Regions from separate parts of the Homo sapiens genome. Here region 1 is linked to region 2. Evidence: promoter capture Hi-C in human tissues and cell types (Jung and others, 2019). All regions are on one chromosome and are shown on one strand. Each heading gives the region's core, a stretch centred on a gene start or on the middle of the fragment in contact. The rest is flanking DNA. Distances are from core to core; before and after follow the strand shown.

Region 1 (5,345 bases), core at 451-2,950, 580 kb before region 2:
TTTATTTAAATAGTAAAAAATAATAACAAAAAGCAGCATATACACACTTCTTAGATATTACTAATATGGCTAAATATTAAATGAAGTGAGCTAACAGCCTAAGAGAAAATTCGAATGCCTGCTTTCATCCAAATCTTCTAAAAGTGGACAAAAGCTCTCATTGTTATATCAGGAAAATTGGAGAGAGAAAATAGATCTAATTTTCTATTCTTGTCACTGCAGTGCTCAGAATCCTTGAGTAGCTTCTCACTTTTGCTCTACATATCAAACCAAAACTTTTAGCCACAGCTTCAAATTCAAATGAATGGCTTGCCTTTCCTGTCTGCTCTCATCTCCTTTAGCACCCTAGCAGGAACCCTGTCCTGCAGCACAAACAGCCTCCCCACAGAATCCTGTGGTCAGATTTTTCTATCTTGTTGTTCACTGAGCACGCACTCTGGGCCAAGTGCTCACCCTGCCCTGGAGTCTTTTCCCATGTGCCTTGCAAGCATGAGGTCTCCCTATTTCTCAGCTCTACTCCTACCCAGGATCAGACTTGCGTTTTGGAAAAATCATCCTGATAATAGTTTTGAGAAAGGAAGGCTGGGAAGGAGGTGACTAAACAGAGAGTATCAGTAAAGGTAAATACAAACAACTGGGGTGGGAAAGGACAGGACGGATTGCCTCTACACAAATTAAGAAGTTAGAGGAAAGATGACTTAGTGCCCAATTCAGTATGAAAAGTTAAATGGGAAAAGGAGTATCTTTACATGATTCCATGCATTTTCGTTTACTCATATTAGCTATTAATTATCCAGATTTATTATTAATTGAAACATTATTTTACTAGGACCTCATTTAATAATAACTTAAAAGGCACTTTTAAAAGATGGTATCTATAGTAACTAGTATTTCACTTTTAGAAGCACAAGTGTTGTCTTTAGATCAAGATTAGCTAATCAAATGAGTCGTACTATGAAAATGATAATTATTTGCAGGCTGTGAATATAAAATATGTACTATTCACGAAGTTGCTGCAAAAACTTACTCCCTGCAGTTTCAATGCCCTAGTTTTCTCAAAACACTCCTGATATATTTTTTCTAAATTATACCCTAAAATAAACAATAGTTAAACAATTTTATCATCAAATCATACAAGCTTATTGTAAAAATATGGAAAATATAGATGTTATAGGGAAAAAATCACCTATAATCAATATCAATTATAGAAAATAAAGATTAAAGGAAAGCCAATGAATTATGTGAATATTCTCTTAGTCTTTTTATTGCCATAAATGTATATGTATATGTACATATACACAATAATTGGAATCATTGTGTATCTTATAATTTATATTTTTTCTTATTTAATGTTATGTCTCAAGAGTTTTCCATCAGTATTAGAATTGTTACAAAAGCACAATTTTAAAGAATAGATAATATTCCAATATATAAATGTGGCATAATTTAATTTTTTTTTTCTGTGATGACACTGTGGCATAGACTAGTTAGATGATCATCAATCCCATTTCCTCTTCCTAGGCACCCAGAAAGACGATATTTTCAAACCTCTCTTGCAGTTAGACTGATGTCATATAACTGACTAATGGTCAATGAAATCTGGGCCAGGAATATCAGGCCTGGCCCCTAAAATATACCTTTCAGTCTCCTTTTCTTTTCTTTCCTTTTCTTTTACTTTCTTTTCTTTTTCTTTTTCTTTCTTTTCTTTTCTTTCTCTGCAGAAGCAGAAGGACTCAGACAATAGAGTTTTATATAGAAAGACATCCCTCAAAGTCACCACTTGGAGGAGAACCACACAAGAAAGTCCCTCAGCCTGCATCAAATTCTGGTGTGACTAGGAAATAAATGTTATTGTGTGAAGCCTCCAGGAAGTGAAGCTTGTTTGTTTCAGTGGCTACTATTATTTATGCTGACTAAAGCCAAAGTTTGAGTTTTTCTAATTTTACTTAATTTAAAAATATACCAAAATGCATAACACTTCAAATAAATATCATTGTATGTACTTATTGTTTTCTTAAGATAAATGACTTAAGATAAATCTGGGTGGGACTTTTGTCTTTCACGAGGATCTAGAAAGCTGGAAAGAACATCACTCCTAATAATGAAAAAATAATAAGGAAAACCTGGATAATTTACAAAATAATATCTTTTCTTAGAATCATAAGAGCTGAAGTCATAGGCAACTCACTGGCCAAGAATGTAGGGACAGCAGTGCACCTCCCTGGAGTGACAGGACACTAGCACTGTCCCACCTGTGAGAGCAAGCAGGGAAGACAAGGCTTCCTTCCCTACAAGTGCAGGTGTTAGAAGCATTAAGCCAAGATTTGTGTCAAATTGTTAAAGGCTGAATGTGGGTCAGCATGAAATTATAGAATTCCTGTGAGCTGAAGACAGAGGGGCATTTGTGCCCAGTTGCAGGCTCTTCTTCACGGACTTGCTGGGTGTTCAAGAGAAAGAACAGGGTGGGTGGACAGGGCAACAAAACACATGCACTGTCCGTGGTGCTGGCCAGAAATGAGGGCAGTAACCACTGTGAGAAACATGAAATTTTCCCTGTTTCCTTATTTCTAAGGAATAAATTCTTATCCGGCTTGGGTAAGGATAGCGAAGGCTGTTATCCCAAGGCTCTGGTGGAAGATCCACTATTGTGAAGGCAGGGAGAGGAGTAAACCTTCTACCCATGTAGTAGGAGCCCAGATCTGGAGAGGCCTTCTTCTGCTGAAGAAGGGGAAGGTCACTAAAGGAAAGCCCTACCCTGAGATCAGGTAACAGAGATTTCCCACCCCCCACCAGGCTGACAAGCACCAAGAAGTAACAAACAGCAGCAGACTATCTTTGGGGAAGGCACAAAGAGAGAAAGAGAGAGACCCTCTCATAGGCATTGGTTCACCTAAAACTGAGAGTAGAGCAGGAATATTGGAAAAATCCTCTGGCACCCCCACCCTGAACAAAGGTTACATGAGAGGAATTTGAAGAAATGCCCTGAAAGTAACCTTAGTGACAACAAAACCAAGTTCAACTCCTAACTACACTGACTCAACCACCCACACTAATGGCTTAGCAGAAGAGGCATGACCATTTCTAGGCATGAATTCTGTTGAACTACCTTATACAGTGCCTTGTTAGCTACAGTAGGATTTTGGCTTTCACTCTGACTTTGATGAAAAGCCATTGCAGGGTTTTTAATATCATAATCTGATATATTTTAAAAGGATAATTCAGGATTCTGAATTGGAAATAGAGAAGGAAAAGGGTGAAAGTAGGAGACCACTTAAAGAGGCTATTGCAGTAATCCAGGCAAGAGAGGCTTTCTCATCTCTGGACCTGTATAGAAGCAGTAGAGGTCATGAGATAGCTTAGTGTCAGGGTCTATTTTGATGCTAGAGCTAGTAAGATTTAAAAATGGATTAGAGGGTGGAGAGAAAGAGAGAGGAAAAGGATAACTCCAAGATTGACCTGAGCAACTGGAAGAGTGAGTTGACATTTATCAAATGGGGAATACTAGAGGAGGAGCAGATTGAGAAAGTGAGAGCAAAAATTTGGGTTTATCCCTGTTGAATCTGAGTTGCCTGTTAGATATTAGAGTGAAGATAATAAGTACAGTGTTGAGGGCATGAGTCCGAGTTAAAGGAGGAGTAGGCTGAAGATATAAATTTGGAAGATGTCAGCAATTAGGTGATGTTTTATAGCAGTGAGACTGGATTATATCATGTAAAAAGTGAATGTCAATTGGGAAGAGAAAAACCTACAGGACTGAGTCTTGGGGCTTTCCAAAATTCAGAAGTAGGGGAGGTGAAAAGGAACCAGCAAAGGAGATTAAGAACAAATAGCTGGTGAGGTAGGAAGACTACCAAGAGAACAATGTCCTCCTAGCCAAGCCAATAAATGCTTCAAGGAGGGAGTGGTTCTCTCTGTTAAATATTACCAATATAAACAGATAAAGACAGAAATGTTCTATGGATACAGTTCTTTGTGATATTTAGAGCAAATACTTTTCCCAGTTGTTGATTTTTTTCAGTGTTTGTTTTTAAAATATGTATTTTAAATGTTCTTTTCATAGAAAAAATATCAATTTTATGTAATAAATTCCATTGAATTTTTTCCTTCTAGTTTCTTTCTTTGGTTTATAATTTAGGACAAACTTTTTCATACAGAAATTTGAAAACAATATTATATTTTATTCTAGTTTTTTACAGTTTTATTATGTATCAATCTTTGTAAATATAGTTTCAATTCCTATATCAAAGGGACATATGACAGTTTAGTTATCAATTCCCCTAATGTATATTTGAAATATATATATTTCAAATCTTTTTAATATGAAAAAGACGACAACGTTTATCTTCTCATTTAAGTCTATTCACATTTTTGAAAATATCTTTTGCGTATGTGCTTACATGTGAAAATTGTTCGGCCATAAAATTATATTAAAAGTATAACATTAATTGTTATATAGGTAGTTAATTTCTTAGTTCATCAAATGTGGAAGCTAATAAATTTGTTCATATTTTTTGTGTACCTCTGTGTTCACTTGTATGTTCCAGGAAGTGTTCTAGTTACTGGTGCTATATATAAACAACAGAAAAACTCCTCACCATGATGGAATTTACATTTTAGCTGGGGGAGACAGACAATAAACAAAAGTTATAATAAATACATAAATTATATAGTATAATGTATAGCCATAATATTATATACTAATGATAATTACATAGTATAATAATTATATAGTATAATATACGGTCATAATAAATAAGTACATTTTATAGTATATTAGAAGGGGATATATGCTGTGGAAGGAAATTGAGCAGAGTGGGAGATTCAGTGGTGGTGTGAAGGCAGCAGTTGCAGTCTATATTAGACCAATGGGGTAGCCTCATCTCATGCCATCGTTAAACAACTAGAAGGAGGCGAAGGAGATGGAGTAACCATGTGGAGGAAGAGGGCTCCAGGGAGAGAGAATAGCTGGTGTAAAAGTCCTCAGGGGAGATCATGTCTAGTATCAATGATGATGTGAAAGAGGCCAGTGTAGCTGGAGCCGAGGGAATATAAGAGACAATTGTAGCAGATTTGGCTAGGAAGATAATGGGAGGTCAGGTCATCCAGGGTTTTATAGACTATGTGTTCTAAGGGATGTTGGAATCGAATCCTCTGGAAGGTTTTTAACAGAGGGGAGACATGATCTGGCTTATATTTTAACAGGATCAGGACAGCTAACTGTGTAGAGAGCAGACACTAAGAGATGAGGGTGGAAGCAGGGAGGTCAGCAAGGATGCTTTTGTATTAATCCTCGTGAGAGAAGATAACAACTTAAGCTGGTTTGTGCTGAAGTAGTTGCAGTAGAT
Region 2 (5,318 bases), core at 485-2,984:
ATAGGTAAATCAATTTTAAATAAAGCAATTTAACAAACTCATATTTCCTTTATATTTTGGAGGAACTCCAAACTTGCAAGAGTAGAACAATGTCCTTACTTACTCTCTTGGGATATCTAAAATATCTTCAGTCCTATAAGATTCTTTTTTAAAATGAGGAATGATTCTTGTTCTGCTTATTTTTACATAACACCTTTATCATCAAACAAACTTCAAGATGTGTCATCTTTAGTAGGAAAACATATTTCCACCTCATCCTCCTGTTAGACTTCAGTCTACTTAAGCCTATTCTCAGTTTAATGGGATTAACAGAAGCAAATCACAATTTAAGACTATAGTTTACCAACCTTCCTTTCTCTTGTTCAGTGAAATTCCCCTGATAATCCATCAGTCAACCCCTGCTGGCCTTGAGAGGCGCTCTAGAAGGCAGGAGAAGGGCACACAGGCTCGCTTTTTGAACTGAAGAAGGGTTTCATTTGGTTTAGAATTGTCAAACTTCAAAAAATAAATAAATAACTTAAAGTGTTTTTCAAATCAGCCATAAGGCTACAAACCAGAAAGAAAAGTGTGAGGCAGGTGTTTGGGGCAGCTACCCAAGTTGCCTACATGGTTTCCAAGGTCCTTTCAACTCTAAGGTTTGTGTATCAGGCTGTCTACAGATCATACTGTCTCCATAAGATTGTCTAGTTCATTTTATGGCTAGTTTGAACAATCTGATTTTCTTTTTTACAATGGCAGGGGCTCAATCCATGTTAGGCTTCAATGTTGAGTCACCCAAGTTCTCCACAGAGAATAACCAACCAGCCGTAAGGAAGCTTCTTTTAGCAATGCCAGGATTCTGCAAAGTCCCTCCCAGCTTAACTTTTCTGACCTTGCGGCAGCAGAACAACAAAAAGAACAGCCCCTGGCACCCTCAGAAGAGCACAAAGCCCTCTGACAACCTGAGATGGCGCCCAGGTAGACTTCCCTCAAAAAAAAAAAAAATGGCAAGGCTGCTTCAGCAGGTCTTTCAGCCCCAACCACTCCACTCTCCGTCTCCTTTTCTTCACTGCTTTCCCCACCTCTCTTCCCCCCTTCCACTTTGACCCACCCCAATTTTCGTCCACTTCTCCCTCACCCCTTCCTTGTAATCTCTCTCCTTGAGGCATCCTGTGGATGTTGACTGTAATCTCCCCTGGAGGAGGGCTAAGAAATGCACCTCCAGAGGGTCTGTTTGCCATTGGAACCGCGTAGAGAAAGCGTGCAAACCCGTCAACTGCTCCCGCCGTTCCTCTCCCTCCTCAACCCAGGCTCGCTACAGAAGAAGGGAGTAGGGTCTGCCCCCTTGTTGTATCTATTTTCCCCTTCTCCGCCAGGGCTGTGGCCGGCAAGGGGCTCAGGAGGTGAGTCCCTTGCCCACACCTCCAACCCCGCTGGCCCGGTTTATAACATGGACAGCCCTGCCCTCTAGTGTCTGCAACCGGGAGCCCTAAGGCGCCATCAGCTCCAGAATTTCTCTTTTATAACCTAAGCAAGACCTGGAGTACCTCGGAGCTGCGACCTCCAGTTCACAATACCACCTGCCTCACACCCGGGCTCATCTTTTCATCCCACACCCACCACCCCCCTCTCCGTTCACGGTGTCCCGGGAGGCTGCGACCTGCGTAGATGATTTAGCAGACTGCCCCTGCCCATGCTCCTGCTCCTGCTCCTCCTCCTCCTCTTCCCCGCTCTCTCCCTCTCGCCTCCTCTTCCAGTCCAGGCGCCCAGACTCGGCGAAGCGCAGCGCCTGCCACCAGCGGTGCCTCGGGCTGCCCGGCGCGCCGCGCTCCCAGGTTCTGTCTCGCCGCACCCCGGCGGGCACTGGCGCGGGCAAGGACGCTGGCGGGGAGAACGCCCTGGGCTCAACGTACTCCAGAATCGAATGTTGAGAGAAGCAGTGCTCTGATCCAGCTCAGGAGAAAAAGGAGCGGGTTCCGAGTGAGACTTCTGGAGCCAGCTGGACGTGCCGGTTTGCCCAGTGCGGCGCGGCTGCACGCACCGTCCACAAGGTGAGGGGCGCACACCTTCCGGGACGACCTTGGCTTCCCTTCTTACCCCCACCCACTCCAGGTACTCCAGCTCTGGCTTGGGGATGTTTGCCAGCTTTGAGGCGCAAAGGCGGCGGGAGTTGGGATGCGGGGTGTCGGAGGGAGACTGAGGGTCGCCCGGGCACCGTGCCTGCACCCTGGATTATAGTACAGAGAGCATTTCTTGTTCAAACAATTCCTCAAATGTGTGAACCTGAGAATCAACATTGTGTATAACTGTGGTTTGAGCATTTCATCCTGCTTCCTTGCAAAAGGATTAGAGGCAGCTTAAAGATTAAATAGGTATGGAACGGGTGCTGGGGGGGGCCAGGGAAAACTTGAGTAGAAATCACAGGGAGGTGGTGTGCTCCAGGGACCCCGGAAGAACTGTGTGATTTCAAAGCCAGCTGATTAAAAAACCTTTGATTAGAAAGGACTGCACTGTTGCTCCAGCCCTCAGAAAATAATACTGTGCTCAGTCCTGATAAACAAAATGCCCAGGTGTGGAGGTAATGAGGCAGGCTCATTTTTTTTAAAATACAAAATAAATCTTGGAAGTAAGAGTTAAGATGAGAAGTTTGGTCTTAAGCCATCTCCACCCAATACTGCAAGGTGAGAGGCTGACCCCCTACCTAACGAAAAGGAAAGGAAATTGAGTCTAAAGGGAAGTGATTCCAGCTCCTATCACAGGATCATAGTGGTTTTGCATCTATATGTATATTTCTGCCTGTGCCCAGTTTTGGAAGAAAGGACCTTGTATTCAACCCAACGCTGCTTGTCCTTGAGTTAGAAGGATAAGGCAGATGGTGTCAGCATCCCAAGGTGTTTCTTCCTAACCTTTCTTATTGTCCTTCCTTGCCTCCTGCACCAAATCTCTTGGGGAGGGAGCAGCCCAGGAGGAAATAATAGATCGTCAAATGGGTTGGGGGAGCAGTGTTTTTTCCAAAATAATTTAGGCTCATTTTATCATTCTTATGTTTTCCCTCAAAGCTCTAAGCAGTACATCGTCCTAAGCTGAATTTAACATTGCTCCAGAATATATATTTATCATAGTTGTACATTCAGACACAATATGCATAACCTTAAACAGCCAGGATGCACTTGTGAATCAGGGGCTTCCCTTACTTAATCCTGCGCAAGAGAGGCAAAGCAGGCACGTGGGTCTGATTCCCTGTGCGGTCTCCTTCATGAGGAGCATATGTGAAATACCTTTGAAATACAGAGAAGATTGAGACAGCTTTTCTCTTTCTGGTACAGTTGCTTTCCTGCTGAATTAAATGAGATGACCCTGTCTTCAACAAATAAATGAATGGAGGCATTTGAGGCCCATTTAACAAATGCACAAAATATGCCTGCCTCTGTTTTTCCTCCCTTCAGAGCTTTAGCCTCCAGCCCACGGAGTTGTGATGATGAAGCCCACCTCCTAAGTGGGACTCAGCTCAGTTTCTGTATCATATTTAAAACAGAGTATGTTGCTTATTTCTAAAATTGCATAGCACCTCACCACTAACTATTTTGCTGCATAGAGGTATTTCATCACTAAGAGAGCTATATAGAGAAACTCACTCAAATCCTGATTCATCATTGTTGATAGAACTTAACTATTGTGTCATCATCACCTGACATGGGCTGCAGAAGCTCCAAGGATTGCTATAGATCTCAATTGAGACTTCTAGTAACAGAGCTAGAAAGGAGCCTTTTAAAGTGTAGCCATGACTCTGGTCATTAGGTATATGCATGTTCAAATATTCCCTTACGTGCTTGTTTTCGCTTTCATAACAATTTCCAGGGATGAAAACTTAGCAGATTATTTTTATAATGAAGAGTATTCAAATTAACAATGTGTATCCACCAGCTAACAAGTTTTAAATTCCACAGAAATCAGCATCACAAGCATAGTAAAATCAAGTTTTCATTCTTTCCTCTTCTGCCATAATGACTTCATTCAAGGCCTAGTCCCAGACCAAGTGCATGGAAACGATGGCTCATGTCTCTCAACATTTGCCCAAGGGAATGGTGCCTACCTTGCAACTCAGCGTGATGTCACCTTTATTAGCCATTCTGGTGTCTATACAAAATATTTGCTCCCCATTTCTTCTTATCGATGCCTGGTCAGCAACAATCATGTAAATAAGTTTCCATTCTTTTGAGGAAGATAACGAAGTCAGCGTTTTTCAGAAGTGGTGCCTAGGAAGAGACAAAATCCAGGACACACCTCTAGTTCAGGTAACACTGCAATATATTTCAATTTCCTGCTGCGTGATGGGGTTATTATTGAAGAGGGAAGTAAGGTATATCATTCACAGCACATTGTCCCCACCTGGCTCAAGCACCACCCATTCCCCAGGTGGGCTCAATATGCTACCCCCACCACCACCAAGATACCAAGGCTGCAAATGAAAAGTAGATCTCAGCCAGGCATGATGGGTCACACCTGTAATTCCAACACTTTAGGAGGCCAAGGCAGGAGGATCACATGAGCCCATGAGTTCGAGACCAGCCTGAGCAAAATAATGAGAACTCATCTCTACAAAAAAATTTAAAATGAGCCAAGTATAGTGGTGTGTACCTGTAGTCCCAGCTACTTGGGAGGTTGAAGTGAGAGGATCGCTTGAGCCCAGAAAGCCAAAGTTGCAGTGAGCCAAGTTTGTGCCACGGCACTACAGCCTAGGTGACAGAGCAAGGCCTTGTCTCAAAAAAAGAAAAGAAAAGAAAGAAAAAGAAAGTAGGTCTCTTTGCAGAAAGCCTCAGGCCCTGAACTTTTGTGTCATCTTCTCATTACTCAAGTCTAATTCCCTACATCTCACTTTTACACACAGATCATTTTTTTCATGTTTGTTTTGATTGCCCACCCTGGAATTCTATTTCTGCACTACCCTTTAAAAGTGAAAGATCAAATCTAACGCTCTAATGTGGGAAAGCATTCCCTCTATTTCTACAAGCTTATTTACACAAAAAAATAAGCTTGAGACTGATCAAAAGCTGAATTTCTACCAAATAGGAACTTACTTTTTATGCCGTAAATTATCAAGGCCATCTCAAGGCAGAGGTGAGTTTAGCATCTCATGCTTTATGCTCCTTTCTTCTGCACCTACCAGATTTTTATTACATGTGAAATTATATGAACATAAACCCCAGGGAAACATTGAAGATGAGTGTGCCGTCACAAGTGACGAGGGGACAGATGAACAGGGAAGAGAAATGGGGCAGCAGCACTTTAGAGTGACTTACTTCTCTCTTGTTTTCTCCTCCCTGAATCATTTTCTAGAA

What was found. The method cuts DNA at HindIII sites, captures the fragments that hold promoters and counts their contacts. A contact is called where the count stands out against the background at its distance.
Region 1: a contact is called between a fragment that was not itself captured here and the fragment with the promoter of HTR1E in region 2, in 2 of the 25 tissues and cell types used here (aorta and liver).

The regions. Positions count from the first base shown.
Region 1 is chr6:86,355,617-86,360,961 of GRCh38, forward strand. No RefSeq gene overlaps it. Among named protein-coding and RNA genes, the nearest start is that of HTR1E, 580 kb to the right of the region's middle. The HindIII fragment of the contact is 5,559 bases long and covers 1-4,480 here.
Region 2 is chr6:86,935,794-86,941,111 of GRCh38, forward strand. It overlaps HTR1E (5-hydroxytryptamine receptor 1E), which reads left to right and starts at 1,735. Exons shown (of 2, transcript NM_000865.3): 1 at 1,735-2,030. RefSeq lists enhancers at 1,519-2,074, 2,075-2,629. The HindIII fragment of the contact is 9,684 bases long and covers 1-5,318 here.